Regions from separate parts of the Homo sapiens genome. Here region 2 is linked to region 1. Evidence: promoter capture Hi-C in 16 types of primary human blood cells and fetal thymus (Javierre and others, 2016). All regions are on one chromosome and are shown on one strand. Each heading gives the region's core, a stretch centred on a gene start or on the middle of the fragment in contact. The rest is flanking DNA. Distances are from core to core; before and after follow the strand shown.

Region 1 (5,709 bases), core at 1,049-3,548:
GGTACTTTGTTATGGCAACCCGAGCAAACCACTATAGTGACCTGAAATGGTTTTGAATATGCTCAGTAAAAGCAAGCCAAAAGCCTAGTTGATTTCATCTGCCAAACCAACGGGCTAGATAAACACTTTTTATAAGACAGGAAGAATGTTGTCGAATCATATCTGGCATTGCGTGGAGGTGTGAGGAAATGGTGTCACGACTCTTCACATCACAGCCTTGTGCCGCAGTCACTCACATGTGCAGCCAGTGGGGGACATCTATTTCCCTGCATGCTCAGATGTGGGCACAAGCCCTTGAGCCCGATACTGAGAGCCTTTTTTCGGAAACACCCTAGTTTGTCAGTTTCTCCCTTGTCTCTTTCTATGGTTTCCTTTTCTAACAAAGAGCTAAACCTACGAGGTCATGACATAAATGCTAGTATTCTATACAATTTCATGATGAATTATTTTCTTTCCTTCTCTTTCTTTCTTTCCTTTCTTTCTCTCTCTCTCTCTTTCTTTCTTTCTGACAGAGTCTTGCACTGTCACCTAGGCTGTAGTACAGTGGTGCAATCTCAGCTCACTGCAACCTCCACCTCCCAGGTTCAAGCAATTCTCCTGCCTCAGCCTCCTGAGTAGCTGGGATGACAGGTGTGTGCCACCATGCCCGGCTAATTTTTTTGTATTTTTGGTAGAGACGGGATTTCACTATGTTGGCCAGGCTGGTCTCAAACTCCTGACCTCATGATCTGCCTACCTTGGCCTCTCAAAGTGCTGGGATTACAGGCGTGAGCCACCATGCCCGGCCTTCTTCATTTCTTTCTAATGAATATTATACAAGGAACGTTTTTGTTTTCATTCTAGTTTTCCTTAATGAATCTTAGTGGGAAATTCATGTTTCTGGGAAATTTTGACAACATAAAGACTTACATATCTCTGGTTGGGGTATGCCCAGCACCATCTGGCCATTCAAGACTGTACTAAAGTATGGGCCTCATTACTCTCGATCTTGTCAGACCACTTGGCTATTCGGGAATTATTTCATCAAGCTGAAGATATTCCCTAAAAGATCCCAGTGAAGCCTGTTCCCTACAATTGACAATGTTTTATATTTTAAAAATACATAAATTAATAACGTTCCAGAAACATTACTTGCTCTTTTTTCAGCATTAGCATAACTAGAAGAAAATGATTTTATAAATTTCCAACATAAAATGAATGTCTCTGCGATCATCTGTAAGATTTCATCTCCACCGGAAGTAAGATCATGACAACCAAAAGTCGCTTTGACGAAACAAATCTAGGACATGTGTGTCATTGTGACTCAACATTTCCCTTACCATTTGGCGGAACCTAGTGTTTTTCTACTATAGGTTCAGCCATCTCTCTATCAAGCCATGACCTCCGTCTTATTTAGACATGATTCCTTATTTGCCAAAGAATAACAAATTGTATTTTTCTTACAAGCCTATCATTTTCATTGTCTTAGTCATTACAGGTTTTAAGTTGTTTCAGTCTGACTAAACAACACTAAATGGTAGATAAACCTAGGAAGATATTTCCGAATATGATGCTTCTCTGAGCAAGAGCACAAATACCAAATTATTTGGCCTTCTCTTTAAAATCTGAGAGGTTTTACATGAACTATGTCTAACCATAATTGAGTTTTCAGTAAGAACCAAGTTTATCTTTAAAAAAAAAAAAAAGAAAAGAAAATACACACAGTCAGATTCACCCCAATTGGAATATAACGTCTCCCAGTGTTAAAATAACAATGACACCGTCACAGCGCACTAAAACTTGGGGCTGATGTAGACACTTAGGGGTAGGCAGACACCCCCCAACAGTCAAAGGTGCCATCTCCTCCATGCAACAGGCACAGGAGTCATTTTCTAGATTCCTTTTTTGAGCTTTTAAAATTTATAAACCTCACATTTTCATCCCAAAATAGCACATTTCAATCATTGTAAGAGTTTACAAGACTGCACACGCCACAGAGTTTAATTTTTCTTGGTACCAAACTTAACAGAACTCATATTAAAGGGTTCAGCGACCCCAAATCCTTCTTCTTTGCCTCCTTTCTCACAATATTATACATTCTATGCCTTAAAATGAATATAATGACTTGCATGGACCACAGGGCTTACAGAGAAGATGGCTGGGGAACAAGACTCCTGAGTCTTACCTTGAACTGAGGATTCCAGAACCAGGATGAGGGCAAGAGCCAGGACAAGCCGACTGCATTTGAGTAGCTTCTGCATCATGACCAACTTAGTCTAGCTCTCCCAGCTGCACGCCAACTTCTTGATTAGGAAATGTAGCAGGGTGCTCTCTGTCCCTTTTAGAAAATGTTCCAAAACCTCAAACCCTGCCCAGAACACACGTCACAATTTCCTGAACAAATAGAAAGACATCCACATCAAAACCCAGAAAGAAAGGGGGTGGGGGGAACACAGTAAAATAACTATTCATACCCATTATGAAACTGTACTGGACTCCCCCCAGGCCTGCTTTTTCAAAAGTTTTGTTGTTTGCCACTTGCCTGCAAGACATTTTTTTTTCCCACCGAAACAGTAGAATCAGCATTTGGGACAGTTTGTTTTTCCTTTCTTCAGGTAACAATCTAAACACTAGATTGCTAATATTAAGAATCTGCTGCATTTTTTATGAGATAAGGGATCTAGGTGCTGCCTTTTCGTCACCAAGCACTTTCAACATAAAACATTCTCTTCATTTTCTTTTTCACCGGGGAGTAACATACCTCACTGAGCCAAGCTCGTGAAGTGAAACTTCAAAGCTGAGCTCTAACCTTCAAGAATGAGTTGTCGGATTTCAGATGAACAGTTTCTTCTTCTTCTTTTTCTTCTTTTTTTTTTTTTTTTTTTTTTTTTTGAGATGGAGTCTCACTCTGTCACCCAGGCTGGAGAGCAGTGGCGCGATCTCAGCTCACTGCAACCTCCATCTCCAGGGTTCAAGCAATTCTCCTGCCTCAGCCTCCTGAGTAGCTGGGATTACAGGCGTACACCACTGCGCTGGACTAATTTTGTATTTTTAGTAGAGACGACGTGTCACCATGTTGGCCAGGCTGGCCTCAAACTCCCAACCTCAGGCCATCCGCCTGCCTCAGCCTCCCAAAGTGCTGGGATTACAGGCGTGAGCCACCGTGCCCAGCAAACAGTTTCTTCTTAAACTCAGTTTCTTGCATTGGATCATTGGCTCTCTCTCTATCTCAAGAACATAGGATTTTCAGTTACAAAGACTGTGGTAAAACAGAAAAACTATTTTGCATTCCCCTCTCCTTCACATTGAGCATTTCTTAAGATGGATTCCATTTCTATTTTTATCTGTTCTCCTAGTCAAAATTTTCAACTCGAGTTTTGGGTCCTCTGGCCTTGAATAAGCCAGAAATCAGGAACGAGGGAGAGGTTGTCCTCACAGTGAGCTGCTGGACCTCAGCAAACAACACAAACCTCTGCCTCATGTAAATAAAGGAACAGCATTTTCCCTGGGCATGGTGCAGATTTCTGGAGGACTAAGGCTCCATATTAAAGTTATACAATAAAGGCCAGGTGCTGTGGTCCACACCTGTAATCCCAGCACTTTGGGAGGCTGAGGTGGGTGGATCACAAGGTCAGGAGATCGAGACCATCCTGGCTAACACCGTGAAACCCCGTCTCCACTAAAAATACAAAAAATTAGCCGGGCGTGGTGGCGAGTGCCTGTAGTCCCAGCTACTCGGGAGGCTGGGGTAGGAGAATCGCTTGAACCCGGGAGGCAGAGGTTGCAGTGAGCCAAGATCGTGCCATTGCACTCCAGCCTGGGTGACAGAGAGAGACTCTATTTCAAAAAACTAAAAATAATAAAATAAAATAAAATAAAGTTATACAATAAATACAAGCCTATCATACATCCTTGCCCTTGTGGCATATACATTTTCCTTACTTCCTTTCAAGATTCAACCACTCTCCATTTCAACATGTCTATCCCTACCGCTCCCCCAGACGGCTTAATGCACGTGCCCCACTTTCCATTCTCATCCTCGCCCTTGCCTGGCCTTTGATAGGAGGGAGGAGTTTCCCTTCCCTTGTTTTAGGCTTCCTGCTGATTCCTTTACCATTTCCTGCTAAGGACAGAGTCTCACAGTCTAATAGCCGTGGTGCAAGAACACAAAGAGTGTACATTTTGGCCCTCCTCAGAAGCCCCTCACATCAGCCAGAAGTGTGTCCTCCAACTCAGGGGCGTCTCCAAGCACAGTAACCAACCCCAAAATGCACTGGCCCGGAAAGTTTTCCACTGAGAAATGTCGGTTTCTGTTTGAAATATCAGATGTCATCTTTGGTCCTTTTAAATCTAACTCCCAATTGAAAACCCTGGCACCAAAACAATAGTTCCTATCAATAGCTTCGATGAGTTTCCTGCAAATCCCCAGAGCTGATTAGGGCTGTGTTTTAAAATGGTAATTTTAGGGGCTTTTTCCATTTGGGAACTTCATTTTTTTTCTTTCTTTCTCTGGGTCATGGTGTTGTTGTTGTTTTTTACCTCTCTCTCTCTGTCGCCCAGGGTGTACCTCCACCTCCTGGGTTCAAGCAAACGCATTTGACTAATTTTTTTTCTTTCTTTCTTTTCTTTTCTTTTCTTTTCTTTTTTTTAGTACAGATGGGGTTTTTGTCATGTTGGCCAAGCTGCCCTCGAACTCCTGACCTCAAGTGATCCACCTGTCTCGGCCTCCCAAAGTGCTGGGATTACAGACGTAAGCCACAACGCCCAGCTCATGGTGACTTTTAAAGCACAGGTGCAGTATTCATAAGCATTTGCTCTTCTCCCACTACGCTGATAATCAAGTCTCTTTTTCTAAGAAGTCCTCCAGTCTCATTTAGCCCTCTTCAAGCTGTAGGGGAGCAGGACACATGCTGCAGCAGCTGGAAGTCCTGGGTCCAAGCCCATGCCCTTCACTTACCAGCTGAGCCACGCTGGGCCACTCACTTTTTATGCGTCCTTTGTTCCAGATGTAATGATGGTGTGGGAAGCCAATGACAGGATGTCCTCAAGAGCACATGGCACACGTGGTGAGGGAGGCATTGGCAACAGTCCTCAGGGCTGGGCATGATCTTACCAAAAGATTCCGCCATTAACCCAATAGGACCCACATCTTTCCCTAAAAGTCAATCTACGATATGCATGTTTTCCACAATTTTAAAAGACAAACCCTATACCAGACTTAATCCTTCTTTCACCAGGCAACCTGAGATGCACCTACTTTACTTCACATTCAGTTTATTTGCCCATAAAATGAGTATTCTTATTCCTTAACAGTCACCTGGAACATGACAGAAATCAGTTCCTGTTGTTTAATAAAGTGACGGGTCGCCGGCAGGGCAGGGTGGCTCACACCAGCACTTTGGGAGGCCAAGGTGGGCGGATCACTCACCTAAGGTCAGGAGTTTGAGACTAGCCTGGATAACATGGTGAAACCCTGTCTCTACTAAAAATACAAAAAAATTATCTGGACATGATGGCGGGCACCTCTAATACCAGCTACTCAGGAGGCTGAGGCAGGAGAATTGCTTGAACCTGGGAGGCAGAGGTTGCAGTGAGCAGAGATCATGCCATTGCACTCCAGCTTGGGTGACAGAGCAAGACTCCATCTCAAAAAAAGAAAAAAAAAATGATAAATTGAGGTTATGAGAAGAGATACAGAGGGCACCATGAAACTGCACAAAGGGGAAGCTC
Region 2 (5,007 bases), core at 1,977-4,476, 54 kb after region 1:
TAGCAATCTGCCAGTTTTCCTCTAAGGAATCACCAGCCCCCAGGTCTCATTCCCTGTGCTTTAGGGGGGCTTCTGAAGTTTCAGCTTCAGGGATGCATATGAAATTCATGCCTGACCCATGAGAATTTCTCCTAGGCCACAGGGTTTGGTCCAGGGACAGCCCTGGACAGAAGATGGGTTAGTGAGAGTCAATACTCATCATCCTGGGTTATGCTAAAATTACCAGGAGAGAGGACCCTTCGTTAACATTGCTAAGCTGGTAGGATGTAAGCCTGGGGCTCCAGGGCCACTCATGGAAAGAGACTGCCCAAAATCAACAGCAAGGAAAGCAGATCCAAGAGGTAAAGCGAGAAAGATGCTGAGCACTCGGTTATCTAAGTCAATACATGGTTCTTTTCTTTTCTTTTTTCTTTCTTTCTTTTGTACTTGCAAAGAGACCCGACTAATACAATGTAGTAGGGAGAATAATAGCACCACCACCTCCCCAAAGATGTCCATGTCTTAATTGTCCTAATTCCTAGAAATGGTGACTGTTGCCTTACACAGCAAAGGGAAATTGGGGATGCAGATGGATTAAGGCTGCTAATCATATGCCCCCCCCCCTTTTTTTTTTTGAGACGGAATCTAGCTCTGTCGCCCAGGCTGGAGTGCAGTGGCACGATCTCAGCTCACTGCAAGCTCTGCCTCCCGGGTTCACGCCATTCTCCTGCCTCAGCCTCCCAGGTAGCTGGGACTACAGGTACCCGCCATCAGGCCTGGCTAATTTTTTATATTTTTAGTAGAGCTGGGGTTTCACCGTGGTCTTGATCTCCTGACCTCATGATCCGCCTACCTCAGCCTCCCAAAGTGCTGGGATTACAAGTGTTAGCCACCGCGCCTGGCCAATCATATGCTCTTAAAAAAGAGAGATTCTCCTGGATCATCCGGGTGGGCCCAACATCATCACAGAGGTCCTTTCTCACAGAAGTGGAAGAGGAAGACAAAAGACAAAAGATAGGTCCTAATGATGTGATGTGAGAGGGGCTAGACTTGCCTTCGCCAGCTTGAAGACGACAGAAGGGGCCACAAGCCAAGCAATGTGGGCAGCCTCTGGAGGCTGGAGAAGGTAAGAAAACTCTCTCTAGAACCTCCAGAGAGGCCTGCAGCCTTGTCAACACCTAAGTTTTATGCCACTAAGACTCATGTCAGACTTACACAGAACTACGGAACTGTAAAATAGTAAATTCATGTAGTTTTAACCACCAAGTTTGTGGTAATTTGTTACAGCAAATGGAAAACTAAAACATCCAGTATTTCAGCAGTTGGTTCATAACACACCTCTGTTAAAGCATAGCCAGTGACTCCACCTGCCTGCCTGCAGGACAAGCCCACACTCCTCACCCGGAATTCAGGTCCTTCATGGGCTGCTCTGTCTGGCCCCAATCTACCCTCTGGCCTCATAGTGCGATCTCCCAGGCTCAAGTAATCCTCCCACCTCAGCCTCCCAAGTAGCTGGGTCTACAGGCCTGTGCCAACATGTCTGGCTAATTAATTAATTATTTTTTTCCAAGATGGGGGTCTCCCTATGTTGCCCAGGCTGGTCTTGAACTTCTATGCTCAAATGATCCTCCTGCCTCAACCTCTCAAAATGCTGGGATGACAGGTGTCAGCCACCGCACCAAGCCGGGCCTTCTGTCTTGATCAGTACTTCTTTCAGTGTCTTCAGCCAGGATTGATCTCCTTATTTTTCTCTCTGAGCCTTTGGTGCTAAAACTAACCCAAGTCTTTCCATCTCTTCCCCTGCAAAACATGCCATGCTTCCTCTGCCTATCGTAACTGCATGTGTCTCTTCCTTCATCCCAGCTCGGCCAGGTGAACTTCTTTCCTCGGTGTCGACACACAAGACTCATTTTGGGTGAGCCTGCTGACTTGCAGATCCAAGAGGGCTCGCCTCCTTCCCAAACTGTGCACCTCACCTCCCAGCTCATCTTTTTTTTTTTTTCGAGACAGAGTCTCGTTCTGTCACCCAGGCAGGTGTGATCTCACCTCGCTGCAACCTCCACCTCCCGGGTTCAAGCAATTCTCATGCCTCAGCCTCCCAAGTAACAGGGACTACAGGTGCCTGCCACCATGCCCTACTAATTTTTGTATTTTTATAGATACGGGGGTTTCACCACGTTGGCCAGGCTGGTCTCGAACTCCTGACCTCAAGTGATCTGCCCACCTTGGCCTCCCAAAGTTCTGGGATTACAGGCATGAGCCACCTCACCCAGCCCCAGCTCATCTTCTTAGAGAGGCATCTCACCTCCACCTCCACATTCCAGGGTGGTAGCTGAGCAGCAGTCAGAGAACAATCAGCCCGGACTGGAGTAGGAAGGGGAGCTCCTGGAGGGAGGTCTTTGGGGGAGAAAATAACTCTATAGAATTGGTTATGATGATGGTGAGTTTGACAATCTGAAGATATTAAGGGCAAATACTGAAAGGAAAAAGAGCAAAGTTAGGAACTCCAGGAAGAACACAAATCTGTGCAGGAAAGGAACATAATCAAAGTATATTTCAGGCTGGGCACAGTGGCTCATGCCTGTAATCCCAGCACTTTGGGAGGCCAAGGTGCAAGGATTGCCTGAGCCCAGGAGTTGGAGACCAGCCTGTGCAACATAGGGAGACCTTTATCTCTACAAAGAATAAAAATAAATTAGCCGGGTGTGGTGGTGCATGCCTATAGTCTCAGCTATATGGGAGACTGAGGTGGGAAGATCACTTGAGCCTGGGAGGTTGATGTTGCAGTGAGCCATGATCACCTCACTGCACTCCAGCCTGGGTAACAGAGACGGACCCTGTCTCAAATCAACAACAATAATGGTGACGTATATTTTACTTGATTCTGCAGTGGGCAATATATATATACACAGTCATAATGTAGACAATATTTGTTGATTGATTACTAACCTTCAGGATCTCCCTACAGACAGAGATACAGTAATAATTTTTTTTTTCTTGAGAAGGAGTCTCACTCTGTTGCCCAGGCTGGAGGGCAGTGGCACGATCTCGGCTCACTGCCACCTCCACCTCCCAGGTTCACACAATTCTCCTGCCTCAGCCTCCCAAGTAGCTGTGATTACAGGTGCCCACCACAATGCCCGGCTAAGAGACATACTAATAATTATGACCACATAATAGAATGTATGCATAACCCCTGACAATGTATAAATGAGAATACAGAGGATTTGTGAGGTTGATGAAGAAAGGGAAGTTTGAAGGGTAGGGGCACTAATATTCTTATCTTAGTGGGTGGTCAAGAAATAGAACAACACACACCTATATCTACAAATTTACTATATGTATTATACATATGCAAGTAGATATATGTATATATATTACATATATGGTTTAACAAAAAAGTGTTATATTGGGAGATACATTGAAAGAAGTGAGGAGGGGAAGTGGGGTGTTGTAAGTGAATTAAATCATTTGCCATCATTGGAGAAATCAACAGATAATGTTTTAAATTGCTAAATCAAGAAATAGTGATATGAACATGTTATTACAACATGTCCAGGTAACCACCAAAAGACGGTTAAACAGATTTTCTCCTGGGAGTGGTGGAGGGGAATGAGTAGGGAACAATAGTACTAGAGACTGGGACTGGCACTTTCATTTTAAACTGCTTGCAACTATTATTTTCAAATTGGGGTGTTTCTTTTTTTTTTTGAGACAGTCTTGCTCTTGTCCCCCAGGCTGGAGTGTGATGTCGTGATCTCGGCTCACTGCAACCTCCCCTTCCCGAGTTCAAGTGATTCTCCTCCCTCAGCCTCCTGAGTAGCTGGGATTACAGGCGCGTGCCACCATGCCCAGCTAATTGTTGTATTTTTAGTAGAGACAGGGTTTCACCATGTTGGCCAGGCTGGTCTCGAACTCCTGACCTCAGGTGATCCACCCGCCTCAGCCTCCCAAAATGCTGGGATTACAGGCATGAGCCACCATGCCTGGCCAAATTTCGGGTGTTTCTTAAATTTATTTTTTTTTAGGAGATGGATCTTGGCCAGGCGTGGTGGCTCCCACCTATAATCCCAGCACTTTGGGAGGCCGAGGTGGGTGGATCATGAAATCAGCAGATCAAGACCATCCTGGCTAACATGGTGAAACCCTGTCTCTACTAAAAATACAAAAAATTAGCCAGGCGTGGTGGCATGCACTTGTAGTCCCAGCTACTCAGGAGGCTAAGGCAGGAGAATCGCTTGAACCTGGGAGGCAGAGGTTGCAGTGAGTGGAGATCGTGCCACTGCACTCCAGCCTGGGCAACAGAGCGAGACTCCAACTCAAAATAATAATAATAAATTTAAAAATTAAGTATATATGTACTTATTTATAATAAAATAACTAAAAAGGAAATGAATAAAAGTATATGTATGTGTGCACATGTGAGAGAGAGAGAAAGAGACAGTAGCATTCAATAAATTCTAATTTAAGGATAAGTAAGCCAAACAGATGAAGAACTAATGAAAAAAATAAAAATAAAAGCCAGTCACAGTGACTTGAAAATATAATCCCAGCTACTTGGGAGCCTGGGGAGGGAGGATTGCTTGAACCCAGGAATCCAGGGCAATATGAATATAGTGAGACCCTCATCTCTAAAACAATTTTTTTTAAGATGAAGAATTAGATATAGATGGTAAGTAATATGTCTTAAGTATGAGGCCAGGCGAGGTGGCACATGTCTGTAATCCCAGCATTTGGGAGGCTGAGGCAGAAGGATCCCTTAAACCCAGGAGTTCAAGACCAGCCTGGGCAATATAGTGAGACCCCCTCTCTACAAAAAGTGAACAGAATTAGCCAGGCATTGTGGCATGCACCTGTAGTCTCAGCTATTCTGGAGGCTGAGGTGGGAAGATCGCTTAAGCCTGGAAGGTCAAAGCTACAGTGAGCCAAGTTCACGCCACTGCACTCTAGCCTAGATGACAGAGTGAGACCCTGTCTCAAAAGAAAAAGGAAAAGAAGAAAAAAAGGAATGAACAGCATTGCCCTGGG

Evidence for each region. Contacts are between HindIII fragments. The CHiCAGO score rates a contact against its expected background, and 5 or more counts as called.
Region 2: a contact is called between a fragment that was not itself captured here and the fragment with the promoter of SRGN in region 1, in 4 of 17 cell types (monocytes, neutrophils, total CD8 T cells and 1 more). The highest score is 16.8, in monocytes.

Annotation. Positions count from the first base shown.
Region 1 is chr10:69,084,692-69,090,400 of GRCh38, reverse strand. SRGN (serglycin) reads right to left here and starts at 2,298. Exons shown (of 3, transcript NM_002727.4): 1 at 2,165-2,298. The coding sequence starts at 2,243. RefSeq lists a silencer at 90-269 and enhancers at 968-2,167, 3,815-3,984. The HindIII fragment of the contact is 21,371 bases long and covers 1-5,709 here.
Region 2 is chr10:69,032,036-69,037,042 of GRCh38, reverse strand. No RefSeq gene overlaps it. Among named protein-coding and RNA genes, the nearest start is that of KIFBP, 46 kb to the right of the region's middle. The HindIII fragment of the contact is 8,335 bases long and covers 1-5,007 here.